Regions from separate parts of the Homo sapiens genome. Here region 2 is linked to region 1. The links are contacts of gene promoters, found by promoter capture Hi-C in human tissues and cell types (Jung and others, 2019). All regions are on one chromosome and are shown on one strand. Each heading gives the region's core, a stretch centred on a gene start or on the middle of the fragment in contact. The rest is flanking DNA. Distances are from core to core; before and after follow the strand shown. Region 1 holds the start of TVP23B (trans-golgi network vesicle protein 23 homolog B). Region 2 overlaps ALKBH5 (alkB homolog 5, RNA demethylase).

Region 1 (6,640 bases), core at 2,215-4,714:
ACGGAGTCTCGCTCTGTCGCCAGGCTGGAGTGCAATGGCGTGATCTTGGCTCACTGCAACCTCCACCTCCCGGGTTCAAGCGACTCCCCTGCGTCAGCCTCAGCCTCCCGAGTAGCTGAGACCACAGGCACATGCCACCACCCCCAGGTAATTTTTGTATTTTTAGTAGAGACGGGGTTTCACCATGTTGGCCAGGATGGTCTCCATCTCTTGACCTCATGATCCACCCATCCTGGCCTCCCAAAGTGCTGGGATTACAGCCATGAGCCCTGCACCCAGCCATGACCACTGTATTTTTAACAGGTCATCAGGGAACTCAGTAAGAGCAGTTCCAGTATGGTTGGGAGAGGGGAAGAGAGACTGACTAGAATGAATACAAGAGAGACTGGAAGAATTAAAAGACAAGCATATATGATACAAGTCTTTAAAGGAAAAAGAATGGAGTGACCAGTGAAAGAGCATGTGGTGTCAAGTTTGTTTTGTTTGTTTGTTTGTTTGTTTTGAGACGGAGTCTGGCTCTGTCGCCCAGGCTGGAGTGCAGTGGCGCGATCTCGGCTCACTGCAAGCTCCGCCTCCCAGGTTTATGCCATTCTCCTGCCTCAGCTTCCCGAGTAGCTGGGACTACAGGTGCCCGCCACCACCCCCGGCTAATTTGTTGTTTTTTAGTACAGACGGGGTTTCACCGTGTTAGCCAGGATGGTCTCGATCTCCTGACCTCGTGATCCACCCGCTTCGGCCTCCCAAAGTGCTGGGATTACAGGCGTGAGCCACCGCGCCCGGCCAAGTTTTCATTTTTTAAGGTAAGAGAAATTAAAGCACGTTTATATGTTGATGTGAGCAAACGTTTAAAAGGATTAAAAAACTGATGATACAAGAAAGAGAATTACTAGAACAATGCCTTCCAGTAGGCAAGAGGAGATGGAAACCAGGACACAGTAGACAGGAAGACCTAAGAATGGAGCACTAACAGTCCAATTATCATAAAAGAATATGAGACCCTGAGTAAACATGCAACTAGGCAGCTAGTGTGAAAATTGTCTTCCGACGGCTTCCATTTTCAGTGAAACAAGAAGCAACGTTACCAGCTGAGAGAGGATAAGAGAAGAAACGTTGAAGATTTGAGTTTTAATAGTTGCCTAAGGCGAGAGGGTGAAGGGGCTATGGAAATGTAGAATGACCGCCTGGCAGCACTAAGGGCTCGACTGAGGTTCACGTCACAAATTTATCAAGTGGGAACCGTCGGCCGGGCCTGGCGGCTCACGCCTGTAATCCTAGCACTTTGGAAGGCTGAGGCGGGTGGATCACCTGAGGTCAGGAGCTCAAGACCAGCCTGGTTAATATGGTGAAACCCCATCTCTACTAAAAATACAAAAATTAGCCGGGCGTGGTGGCAGGCGCCTGTAATCCCAGCTACTCTGGAGGGTGAGGCAGAAGAATCGCTTGAAGCCGGGAGGCAGAGGTTGCAGTGAGCCGAGATCACACCATTGTACTCCAGCCTGGGCAACAAGAGTGAAACTCCGTCTCATAAATGAATGAATGAATCAATCAATCAATCAATAAATAAATAAATAGTGGGAACAGTCAACATTGTTGTGTTTCTCCAGCCTCATCCGGCCTGGGCGCAGGTTCAAATGTCAGAAGCATGTGAACCTGAACAACTCCATCTTCAATAGGAGCTGGGTAAAATGAGGCTGAAACCTACTGGGCTGCATTCCCAGACAGGGCATTCTAAATCACAGGATGAGATGTGAGGTCGGCACAAAATACAGGTCATAAAGACCTTGCTGAAAAAACAGGTTGCAATAAAGGAGCCAGCCAAAACCCACCAAGACCAAGATGGCCACGAGAGTGACCACTGGTCGTCCTCACTACTAGACTCCCATCAGCGCCATGCCAGTTTACAAATGCCATGGCAACATCAGGAAGTTACTCTCTATGATCTAAAAGGGGAGGAATGAATAATCCACCCCTTGTTAACCATACCACTAAGAAATACCCATAAAAATGGGCCACCAGCAGCCCTCCAGGTTGCTCTATGGAGTAGCCACTCCTTTACTTTCTTAATAAACTTGCTTTCACTTTGCACTGTGGACTCACCCTGAATTCCTTCTTGCCTGATCCAAGACTTTTTTTGTTTTGTTTGAGACGGAGTCTCCCTCTGTAGCCAGGCTGGATGGAGTGCAGTGGCCCGCGGCTCACTGCAACCTCAGCCTCCCCAGTTCAAGCGATTCTCCTGCCTCAGCCTCCCGAGTAGCTGGGACTACAGGCGTGCACCATCACGCCCAACTAATTTTTGTATTTTTAGTAGAGACAGGGTTTCACCAAGTTGGCCAGGATGGTCTCGATCTCTTGACCTCATGATCCACCCACCTCGTCCTCCCAAAGTGCTGGGATTACAGGCCTGAGTCACCACGCCCGGCCAAGGACCCTCTTTTCGGGTCTGGATCGGGACACCTTTCCTGTAATACAGCTGAATTTAACCATTATTAGATTTTCTCCACTCAAGGCATCTCCTCATAAGCAGTCTTTCCTGACCATAAATCTTAGTTGTCCTATCCTCAGACACTTGTTATTTCATCACCCTGCCTTTGCAATTATCTGAAAATATCTTTGGTTATACAATTTATCGTGTCTCCCCACCCAACCCCCATCTCCTAGAACCCACTTCCCTAACCCAAAAATACGGGGCAAGAAACCTGTCTGTACTGGTCACAACCCTATCCCTGGGCCTACAACCGTGTCTGAGTCATAGTAATCCCTCAACAAATTTTGTGTGAACCGAAAGAAAAAAACACTTAAGACAATCTAAGTGACCATAAACAGTAGTTTTTTCTAAAAATATTATTAATCTTACGAGTCTCTGGTTGCCAACATGTGGACTACAATTAACTCTAAGAGCACAAAGGAGAGAATCACCAACAACATTAGTTTGGAAACAGCAATTTGAAAGCGAGGCTCTGGCGGTGTCGCCGATTCCTACAAAATAGCATCGCACCCCTGGGTGTCAGGAAGCTAAGAGGCCCGCAGGCCGCTCCTCCTCAACTCCACCCCGGCAATAAGGGTTGAGGAAAGAGAGACCCCCACTCGCGCTGGTTAACAATGGGCGTCCCCACAGCCGCAAGAAGTACTTGCTCTGCGCCGCACGGGTCACGCCGCCCCCAGCGGCCTCAGAACCCCCAGCAGCCCTCCTCAGACAACTACCCACAGCCCTCCACTCCCGGCCGCCCCGCTCCTCCTCGAGTTCGAGTAGCGGGCGCGGGGGACGCGGGCTCCAGTCCCACGGAACCTGCAGAGCCAGTCCCAGGAGCCGCCACCCTCCCAGCGAGCCCTCAGCCCCTCACCTGCTGCAACATGGCGGCCCTACGCCAGCCCTACTTCCGGGAGCCACGTCAGCGCAGCAGCGTACGGGTCCGGGTCGGAACTGAGGCGACCCGTCACCAAGGGCCAGCAGGGACCACTGTAAGAGCCTCAGTCCGGCCTCACTTCCGCTTTGAGGGAGCAAATCCAGGGGCGGGGCGAGCGGGGGCGGGGCGAGCGGCCCGGACACGGCGGAGGCGGAGCCTGGAGCAGGAGCGAAAGGGAAAGGTATTGGGGCCACAGTGGGCTCTAAGTGGAAAGCTTCATGGTCTGTTTTACGGAAGTATTTGCTGTCCACCCAATGCAAATTCTAAAGTCGTTCCCCCAGTGTCGCTGCCCCGAATGCAGGGGGGCGGGGTTTTATTGTATAATATAATTTTCTTTAAATATTTTACAAAGACTTACTCCTGTACAGTATTACTTTTGTACTTTAAATTGTAGAAGCAACTTTTTAAAATATGTTCTTGCAGAGAAGTAAAACGTTAAGAAAAACAAGGCAGGAGGACTCTAGAGTAACTAATGGACGGTATTATTATGGGAGGTATAAACTTAGACGCCAGGAGTTGAGACCTTGCGCCCTGGAGCTTAGGCGCCTGGGAACTCTATTGCCAATCATATCACCAACCTTTATGTACTTCTTTCATCAGTTGTAAAGTGGGGGTGATAATGGTTTCCTTACAGTGTAAGTATCTAGTAAATGGGAGACGTTATACTTACTACAGTTTTAAGTCCAGCCGCTCATGCTGTGATCTTGCCTGAACAAAGGATGTGAAATTAAGGGGCGTTAAGTCATCTTTGAAGCGGTGATGATGACAATATCCTATCTGTCTGGCCGAGTCAGACTGCTGTTGGCATAGTGGTATTTGCACGTGTCCTTAATTGAAGGGATTCTATTAAAATCACAAATTTTACGTGGCTGATTGCCAGTGCCATTTAAAACCTGATATTCTAATAATGAAAGGGGGAAAACACACACACGCGTTTCTAAAGGCAAGACATTTCGGCAGCACAATTGCATTCGTGCCCTTGGAGATGAAAAGCTAACAAATTTGGGGCCTGTACGTCCAGCCTGCCCATGGCAGGTTTTCAGTGGTCCACTCAGTGCTGTGGAGTTTTGTGTTGTTTTTCGTAGTTTTTGGTTTTTTAAGACATTGTGTTTGAATTCATTATCGTCTTTTAATTTTTAATAGCTAATTTTTAAAGCTAATTTTGTATTTTTAGTAGAAACGAGGTTTCACCACGATGGTCAGGCTGGTATCAAACTCCTGATCTCAGGTGAGCCACCCGCCTCAGTCTCCCAAAGTGCTGGGACTACAGGCGTGAGCCACCGCACCTGGTCAAGGCTTGAACTTTCTAATGGGCCATAGCTCTTGTAGTGGGCTGCACTCTTCTAAATTACCTGGTCCCTGCACCATAGTCCAAAGGTTTAAGCAGAAACCTCAATGCACTTGATGTTACTGGCCCTCTTTGTACAGAGGATAAATATGCTAATTCTCTTCCTTAGGAGTTAGCCCTGAGAAGGAAAAGCTCAATGTTGTCAAATGCAACAGGTCCACCCCACTGAGGGCTTCCCCTTTTAAATTCTTAATGGGTTTTATCAGGCTTCTGTGCAAAAATACCAGAAAACACCAATGCATGACCCTGATATAATCCCATAACTTCATTTGCCAGAAGAACTAATAGCACTAAATTGGTAGTGATGAATGGTATCTAATTTCCAGTGATCATCTCCCCATCCCCCATCAACGAAACTGGGCTTTCCTAATGCTCACTAAATTGTTTTCAGTGGGACTACAGATGCTAATCTCGCCCAACCTCCTTCTGTTTTCTTATTTTGATGATATCAAATATTTGGCTCAGAGGAAGATAACTGGGAGTTCCCACATTAATTACCAGGAAGAAACAGTCAAAAAAAAAAAAAAAAAGGCCAAATAGCAACATCCGCTTGGCTTTCTGTTTATTGTAAAACATTGTAATTTCCCAAGGCTGGTTTAGATAAATACATTTTGTCCAAGTTCAGGGGCCGCTGTTTTCCCTTGCTTCGTGAAATTATCAATAGGCAGGCCTTTGATCTTCCTGATCCATGCAGCTTTGCTGACTTTTCCTGGATCAACCACTCCAGTGGACTCCCTGGCCTGATATTCCTTCATCTTGGCTTCCTGGTGCTCCTTCTCCTCCTTCACGGTCAACAGCACGAACTCAGTGTTCACTCTAAAAGGATCAAGGGCTGTATAGATGCGAGGCCGTTCTTTCTTAAGAGACAGGGTGGCTGTGCCCACTTGTGGAGCTAGCATGCGGTTTGGTTTAATGACCTGCATACTGGTCAGGGGACCCGTACTGCACACAGCCCTTTCAATTGAACTGGTCACTTGGTCTCCACCCTTTAAGCTGCCAGAGAACCTGGAGCGGATAATCATGGGCTGGGGTATGGTGGACTGGACTCTAGGACTGTGCAAAGAGATCTTCAAGTTGGGCTGCAGTTTCTGGATTTCAAGGGGAATACTGGTTCGTTTCACATCTATAGGAGGATTGCTCAATCTCAACCGATCAACTGCACGTTGGATTGATTTTCCTTTGAAATTCAAGACCTTCCTTGGGTATGAAATTGAAGGTCCCCAGACATCAGTAATTTCTGTTTGGGGCCTACAGGGATAGGCAAATTCCCCGGAATTATGGGCGTGCTGCAGGGCGCTAACAGTCAGGAGGAATTGGTCAGGTGACATAGGGATTTTCCAAGACTTTTTCTTTGGGTGACTGGGCAGTTTTCCAGGAGTTTCCAATTGTCCTTGTTTTTGTGCTTTCTCCACATCATCTGCTTTTTCAAAAAAAAGAAAATTTTAAAAAATCGGCGTTCTATGAAAAATATTAAGTACGTATGCATTAAGTACTTGGGCATTCAAACTTCGAAGCACATTGAGGTCTTTGTTGCCCAACAGGTATGCCATCATACAGGCAGGCACCCTGAGTGGTATTAGAAATGCTGATACTAGAAACAATTTAATAAAACAAATTTTTTTGTTTGTTTGTTTTTGTTTTTGAGACGGAGTCTCGCTCTGTCACCCAGGCTGGAGTGCAGTGGCATGATCTCTGCTCACTGCAAGCTCTGCCTTCCGGGTTCACGCCGTTCTCCTGCCTCAGCCTCCCAAGTAGCTGAGACTACAGGCGTCCGCCACCATGCCTGGCTAATTTTTTGTATTTTTTTTAGTAGAGACAGGGTTTCACCGTGTTAGCCAGGATGGCCTCGATCTCCTGACCTCGTGATCCACCCGCCTCGGCCTCCCAA
Region 2 (6,640 bases), core at 1,879-4,378, 590 kb after region 1:
ATAGAATATCTACATGAAGTCTCCATTTGGGGGGATCCAAAATTTTGAAGACAGTTGTGTTTGAATATTTTAAGAATTTCCGGCTGGGCGTGATGGCTCATGCCTGTAATCCTAGCACTTTGGGAGGCCGAGGTGGGCGGATCACCTGAAATCAGGAGTTCGAGACCAGCCTGGCCAACATGGCGAAACCCCATCTCTACTAAAAATACAAAAATTAGCCAGGCATGGTGGTGGGCGCCTGTAATCCCAGCTACTTGGGAGGCTGAGGCAGGAGAATCGCTTGAACCTAGGAGGCAGAAGTTGCAGTGAGCCAAGATCACGCCCACTGCACCTGGGCAACAGAGCGAGACTCTGTCCCCACCACTGACCCCCACCCCCTGCCCCCCGCCCAAAAAAAAAGGATTTCCATCATACTCAGATATCTGTTTATTTTCAACAAGTTACATGACTTTTAAAACCGCTCAGAGACCAACTAATGTGGGTAGATGACTGTCCTCTTCTCAGCTAGCGTCATTCCAATTTGAAACTCTGGAAGCAAGCTCTGAGCTTCCTATACCCCTCACATGCTATCACTGGAAGCATGGCAGCCACAAGATACTCCCACTCCAAGTTACTCTACTGAGCTGCAGCAGTTCTACACACCCAGAAACTCAGCCACAAGCCTAGTAGGACAAGTATGGCTTAGTTTCCCTACCTGGCCCTGTACCACAAACCCTTCTCTCATGGCTGCTGATCAGCTCCCTTCTCAAAGGCTAGTTGTACAGACACAAACTTAACTATTAAAAACACTGCAGGCCTGGGAAGGACCCCTCAAGATGGCCAGGCTGGCCAAACCTCAGCTCTAATAACTGGATGCAAGAGCCAACAAGAGATAAAAAGCCAGACTGCTTCAGGCTCAGCCTTAAGGAAGCACCTCTGATTTGGAAATCTGATTTGAGCTCATGCTGGGGATAGAACAAACCTTTATTTTATTTAATTTTTTTTTTTTTTGAGACAGTCTCACTCTGTCACCCAGGTTGGAGTGCAGTGGCACAATCTCGGCTCACTGCAACCTCTGCCTACCGGGTTCAAGCGATTCTCCTGCCTCAGCCTCCCAAGTAGCTGGGACTACAGGCGCACCCCACCACGCCTGTCTAATTTTTGTTATTTTCAGTAGAGATGGGGTTTCACTATGTTGGTCAGGATGGTCTTGAACTCCTGACCTCGTGATCCGCCAGCCTCGGCCTCCCAAAGTGCTGGGATTACAGGTGTGAGCCACCGCGCCCGGCCCAAACCTTTATTTTATAGATCCACCTTCTCCCTCAAGCTGCTCCTAGACAAGAATTTTTCAAAATTTTCTCCATGAACACCAGTCCCATAAGAGACAGTAGACAGGCTAGGCACGGTGGCTCACGCCTGTAATCCCACCCAGCACTTTGGGAGGCCAAGGTGGGCATGTTGCCTGAGGTTAGGAGTTCGTAACCAGTCTGGCCGACATGGTGAAACCCCGTCTCTACAAAAATACAAAAATAAGCCAGGCATGATGGCAGGTGCCTGTAATTCCAGCTATCGCAGAGGCTGAGGCAGGAGAATCGCTGAACCTGGGAGGTGGAGGTTGCCGTGAGCCGAGATAGTGCCACTGCACTCCAGCCTGGGTGACAGAGTGAGACTCCGTCTCAAAAAAAAAAAAAAAAAAAAAAAGAAAAAGACAGTGGACGAATGTCTACAGTGAAATCAATTTGTAAAATACTGATTAGAGTTTCAAAAAGCATTAATATATTTAAAGCACATGAGAATTACTACAGCAAAAGAACCCACTGACTTTGAGCACTTACCAAAGAACCTTCTCTCATAATACCTATTAATACCCATCAGCCCACAGTGAGAAGTACCACACAGGAGTTAGTGAGTTGAAGAGACCTGGGTTCAAATGTGAGCTTTGTCTCCTACTAGCTTTGTGACCTTTGTTAAATCACATGCTGAACCTAAAAACCTGTACAGTTTCTTCATCTGTAATAAGGAGAACAGTAGGTTCTTGGGTATTCATTTTGTTATGCTTTATAATTTAGCTATTCTTTTGCTGCTACTAATATTACAAGATTTTAAAAATGGGGACAGTTTTAAAGATTACAAGATTAAAGTTTTTAAGATTACAAGATTTTAAAAACGGGGCCTCCTCCCTTCCAGGCAGAAAAACAGCATTATATGACTACTTGGTTGACACTCCTGGAAAGGGGTGGTGAGAGGCCTACCTGCAGGGGTATTGCGAGAATTAAGTCAGATAATGCAGGGTGCCTGACACCCTACAATCTTTACTAAGCACTCTGACAAAAGTCAGAGGGCCCTGGACTATCCTGGGGCAAGCCAGAGCCCTGGATTCAGCATCTGCCAAAGAGACATGGTCTGGGCTCCCCCTGCAGGGATCTGCCAGTAGTGGGGGCCGCCTGGGCCCCATTTCCAGAGCTAGGAACTCTAGTTCTCATCCCATGCTTTTATCATTCCACACTGGGGGAATGGGGGTCTAGACTGCAAGACTGTCCCATATAGACACACAATACTTTCCCAAAGAGCTGTCAAAGGTCTCAAAGGCACTTTTTTTTTTTTTTAAAGACAGAGTCTCACTCTGTTGCCCAGGCTGGAGTGCAGTGGCATGATCTTGGCTCACTGTAACCTCCACGTCCCAGGTTCAAGCAATTCTCCTGCCTCAGACCCCCAAGTAACTGGGACTACAGGCTAATTTTTGTATGTTTAGTGAAGACTGTTTCCCCATGTTGGCCAGGCTGGTCTCGATCTCCTGATCACACGTGATCCACCCACCTCGGCCTCCCAAAGTGCTGGGATTACAAGTGTGAGCCACCATGCTCGGCCCCAGAGGCACGTTTCTAAGTCCTGAATCTGCAGTGCTGGCTACAGGCAACCTTCCCTGCCATTGACAAGTGTTATCAATCTGTTTGACTTGGCTATATGCATAACCAAGGGCCCTGACTTCCCATCTCCAACAAGGAACCACTTTTCTTAATGCAGTTCTGGAGCAAATCCAGATGTTTGTCAAAGCTTGACTGCCCGCATGCTCCCTGACCCCATCCCCCAAAGGGCTCTAGAACAAACAATAAGCCATGTCAGGTTCCTGCCACGGAGCCCAGGCCTTGGAAGAACTAGTATGGAGGTAGGGCTGCACAGGCCCACAAAAATGACTTTGGCACTGACCCAACCTGGAAGGCTTATTAGTACTGGTCTTCTAGAACTTCCTAGCAGCTATGACACAGCCCACTGACCCTTTCCTCAGAATATCCGGCTGCTCTGGCAACATGAGCTCAAAGTCCTGATTAAGGGAAGCTCTCCTGGCCAATCTCACAAAATGTCGAGCAGAGACCACAGGGTATTATTTACTATTAAGGAACCTACTTGCTACAAAATAAATTGTCTGAAAGTCTCAGTCGGCCAGCTTGCAACTTAATATGCCCTTGGGTCCAGCCCTACTGCTGGCATGAAAAGTTCCAGGACCTCCTGCTTTTTTGTTTTCACAGGGAAAGGAGAAGAGGAAATAACCTTATGCCATCTGGCTTGCCTGCTCCCTCTCTGGGCTGAGCCCCCAGCCCCAGCCCCAGAGGCACTGACCAGTATATGTTGCAAATGTCACCCACTAGTCCTATACCTCAGAGTGACTCTCGAAGGAGCTGACATGTCTATCTCCTCTTTTGGGGGCCTTTCCCTGACTGCCCAGGCTGGGTTCCCCCTACATTGCTCAACCACACCCTCTCATGCCTCTTTGCTATTCCATCTGGCCTTGTGGAAATTGTGTCTTCCCTTCAAGACAAAGCTCTTCAAAGGCCTTACTCATCCCTGCACAGTGGACACTAAATGAAATGTGTGTTGAGCTGAACTATTCTACCACTTAGAACCTGTTTCTGCCTCTGCAAAACAAAGATCACAGCAAGCCCCTCCTCAGAAGATTAGGTGCAAATTAAATGAGGTGTCTGAAATTTTTTTTTTTTTTTTTTTTTTCGGAAACAGAGTCCCACTCTGTTGCCTAGGCTGGAATGCAGTGGCGCAATCTTGGCTCACTGCAACCTCTAGCTCCTGGGTTCAAGCAATTCTCTGCCTCAGCCTCCCGAGTAGCTGGGATTACAGGTGCCTGCCACCACGCCCGGCTAATTTTTGTATTTTTAGTAGAGACGGGCTTTCACCATCTTGGCCATTCTTGTCTTGAATTCCTGACCTCAGGTGATCCACCCGCCCTGGCCTCCCAAAGTGCTGGGATTACAGGCATGAGCCACCGCACCTGGCCCTGAAAAATTCTTTAAAGAAACTATGCAGGACTGTACATCTCTCCTCTAGGGGACGGTCTTGGAAACTGAGTTGTTATGACACATTTCCAAGATGGCCACCATTTTCCATCTACTCCATGCCCTGCCTAGGCCAGGATGAACCAGAGATGGAGGGACTGTCCAAGATCCCAGCCTGGTGACTGTCTCTCTCCAGCTATGGCTACCTGCCTTACTGACAGACCCACAGGACCAAGAAGGTCAGGCTTTTGGGGGCAGCAGACCAGCCACCTGGACCCAGGGGCAGGATTGTGAGCTCAGGCTCAATTATTTACCAGACCCAAGCCTCCAAGACGACCCATGGCCTAACTTTATAAGAAGTCCTGGGGCTTTCTGAATCCAGAGGGAAGGTCAACCTGCCAAGTCCCAATTCTGTACACACCAAGATAGACAGTACTAAACACAGAAGGTAGCCCATCTCCTGAGACACTTTTAGCTAAATTTCAAGCATTCAATAGATGACAAAGATTCAACTTTCTATAACAACTCTATAGCATCATTAGACTGGTTTTGCAGATGAGGAAAACTGAGGCCTCAAAAAGCTTAATTTCCCCGAAGTCAACGAGTTAAAATGGTGGTGCTGTAACTCCAACCAAGTCTGCTGTCAAACTTTCTGGATTTTGTTGTGGAGGCGGTAGGAAGAAAAGCCCATCTGTGTTTCCTGGTAGCAAGCCTGTCCAGGGGGCCTTGCTGGCCTCACCAAAGGGCACACGTACACCCACTAGCCCCATGAAAGAGATTTGCAGAGATGAACCTATATCCCCCAGAGAGCTAGCACTGTATCAGTGAAGGCTATCCACCAACTGGCCAGCCAGCTCTGAATTTTCTTTTTCTTTTTTTTGAGACGGAGTCTTGCTCTGTCGCCCAGGCTGCCAGGCTGGAGTTCAGTGGCATGATCTCGGTTCACTGCAAGCTCCGCCTCCCGGGTTCGTGCCATTCTGCCGCCTCAGCATCCCAAGTAGCTGGGACTACAGGCGCCCGCCACCACACCCAGCTAATTTTGTTTTTTGTATTTTTAGTAGAGACAGGGTTTCACCATGCTAGCCAGGATGGTCTCGATGTCCTGACCTCGTGATCCACCCACCTCGGCCTCCCAAAGTGCTGGGATTACAGGCGTGAGCCACCGCGCCCGGCCTTGAAATTTTTTTTTTTATTATTTTTTTTGAGACGGAGTCTCACTCTACAGCACAGGCTGGAGCGCAAGGGCTCGATCTCGGCTCATTGCAACCTCCGCCTCCCGGGTTCAAGTGATTCTCCTGCCTCAGCCTCCTGAGTAGCTGGGATTAGAGGTGCACACTACCATGCCCGGCTAGTTTTTGTATTTTTAGTAGAGATGGGGTTTTACCATGTTGGCCAGGTTGGTCTCAAACTCCTGACCTCATGATCCGTCCACCTTGGCCACCCAAAGTTCTGGCATTACAGGCATGAGCCACTAAGCCTGGCCAGCTCTGAAATTTTTATGGCCTATTTATTCTCTGCTTGCTCTGAGCTTCATGATTAACACCATGGTTCACTGTTAGCTTCCTTTCTTTTACTGCCCTCTGCCTTGTCAGGCTCTGGCAGCAGCAAGGGCAGCCAACCCCCCTGGCCCAGAGCTCCTCCTGACGGTGCACAGCCCTGACTTCATCCTGTGGTTCCTCCCCCTCCAGTGGAATCAGAAGAGTCCACACAAGAGATGTGGCCCAGGACCTATCTGCCCTACTTTCCCAACTATTTTAAGCCAGAAAGCTAAATTTTGCTTTCAACCAGCTGAACAAGATCAGACTATCCCAGAACTGACAGGGGTGCCCACTCCACCCAATACCAACCGTTAACTGGAAGAGTCACAGGCTGAGCTCACCAGTGCATGCCCCGTGCCTGGGTGATACAGTCATTTCCAGACGGCTGGCCTAGGCCTGGGTCTCTGGGCATGTGGCCACCACACCACAGACCACGTAGCAGTGATTAAAGATAGCAGCAAGTAAGCAATTAGCCTTGAAGTAATTATTCTAATTAGTCCAATCAGAGTCTGTTTTAATCTGCCCCATGCAGCCAACAGGGAATAGGAGAATGAATGACAGATAAAGTGATATGAAGATAAAAAATATTTCCCTAAAGTACAGCCTTAAGAGGGGATCCACCCAGGCCTAACATGGGAAGGTTACAAAAAACAACTGACGACTAGGTTTGGAAAGGAGTTTGAAGCACTTCCAGAAGATTCTGTGAGGCCTTGTTCTAAATGCCCAGGTTTAGACACTGCTGAGTCAATGTTTGTGACGCACCAACATCCATGCTGATCACTATTAAATATAAAATTGTATTCTTGCCATGCGGTCTTAGAGGGGTACAGATACCAT

Evidence for each region. Contacts are between HindIII fragments. The study calls those that stand out against the background at their distance.
Region 2: a fragment that was not itself captured here is called in contact with the fragment with the promoter of TVP23B in region 1 in 1 of the 25 tissues and cell types used here (hippocampus).

What each region holds. Positions count from the first base shown.
Region 1 is chr17:18,778,007-18,784,646 of GRCh38, reverse strand. TVP23B (trans-golgi network vesicle protein 23 homolog B) reads right to left here and starts at 3,464. Exons shown (of 7, transcript NM_016078.6): 1 at 3,342-3,464. The coding sequence starts at 3,353. It overlaps FBXW10 (F-box and WD repeat domain containing 10), which reads right to left. Exons shown (of 14, transcript NM_001267585.2): 14 at 5,298-6,172. The coding sequence ends at 5,349. The HindIII fragment of the contact is 28,552 bases long and covers 677-6,640 here.
Region 2 is chr17:18,187,895-18,194,534 of GRCh38, reverse strand. All of the region lies in intron 1 of ALKBH5 (alkB homolog 5, RNA demethylase), which reads right to left. Among named protein-coding and RNA genes, the nearest start is that of ALKBH5, 7.4 kb to the right of the region's middle. The HindIII fragment of the contact is 6,402 bases long and covers 1-6,329 here.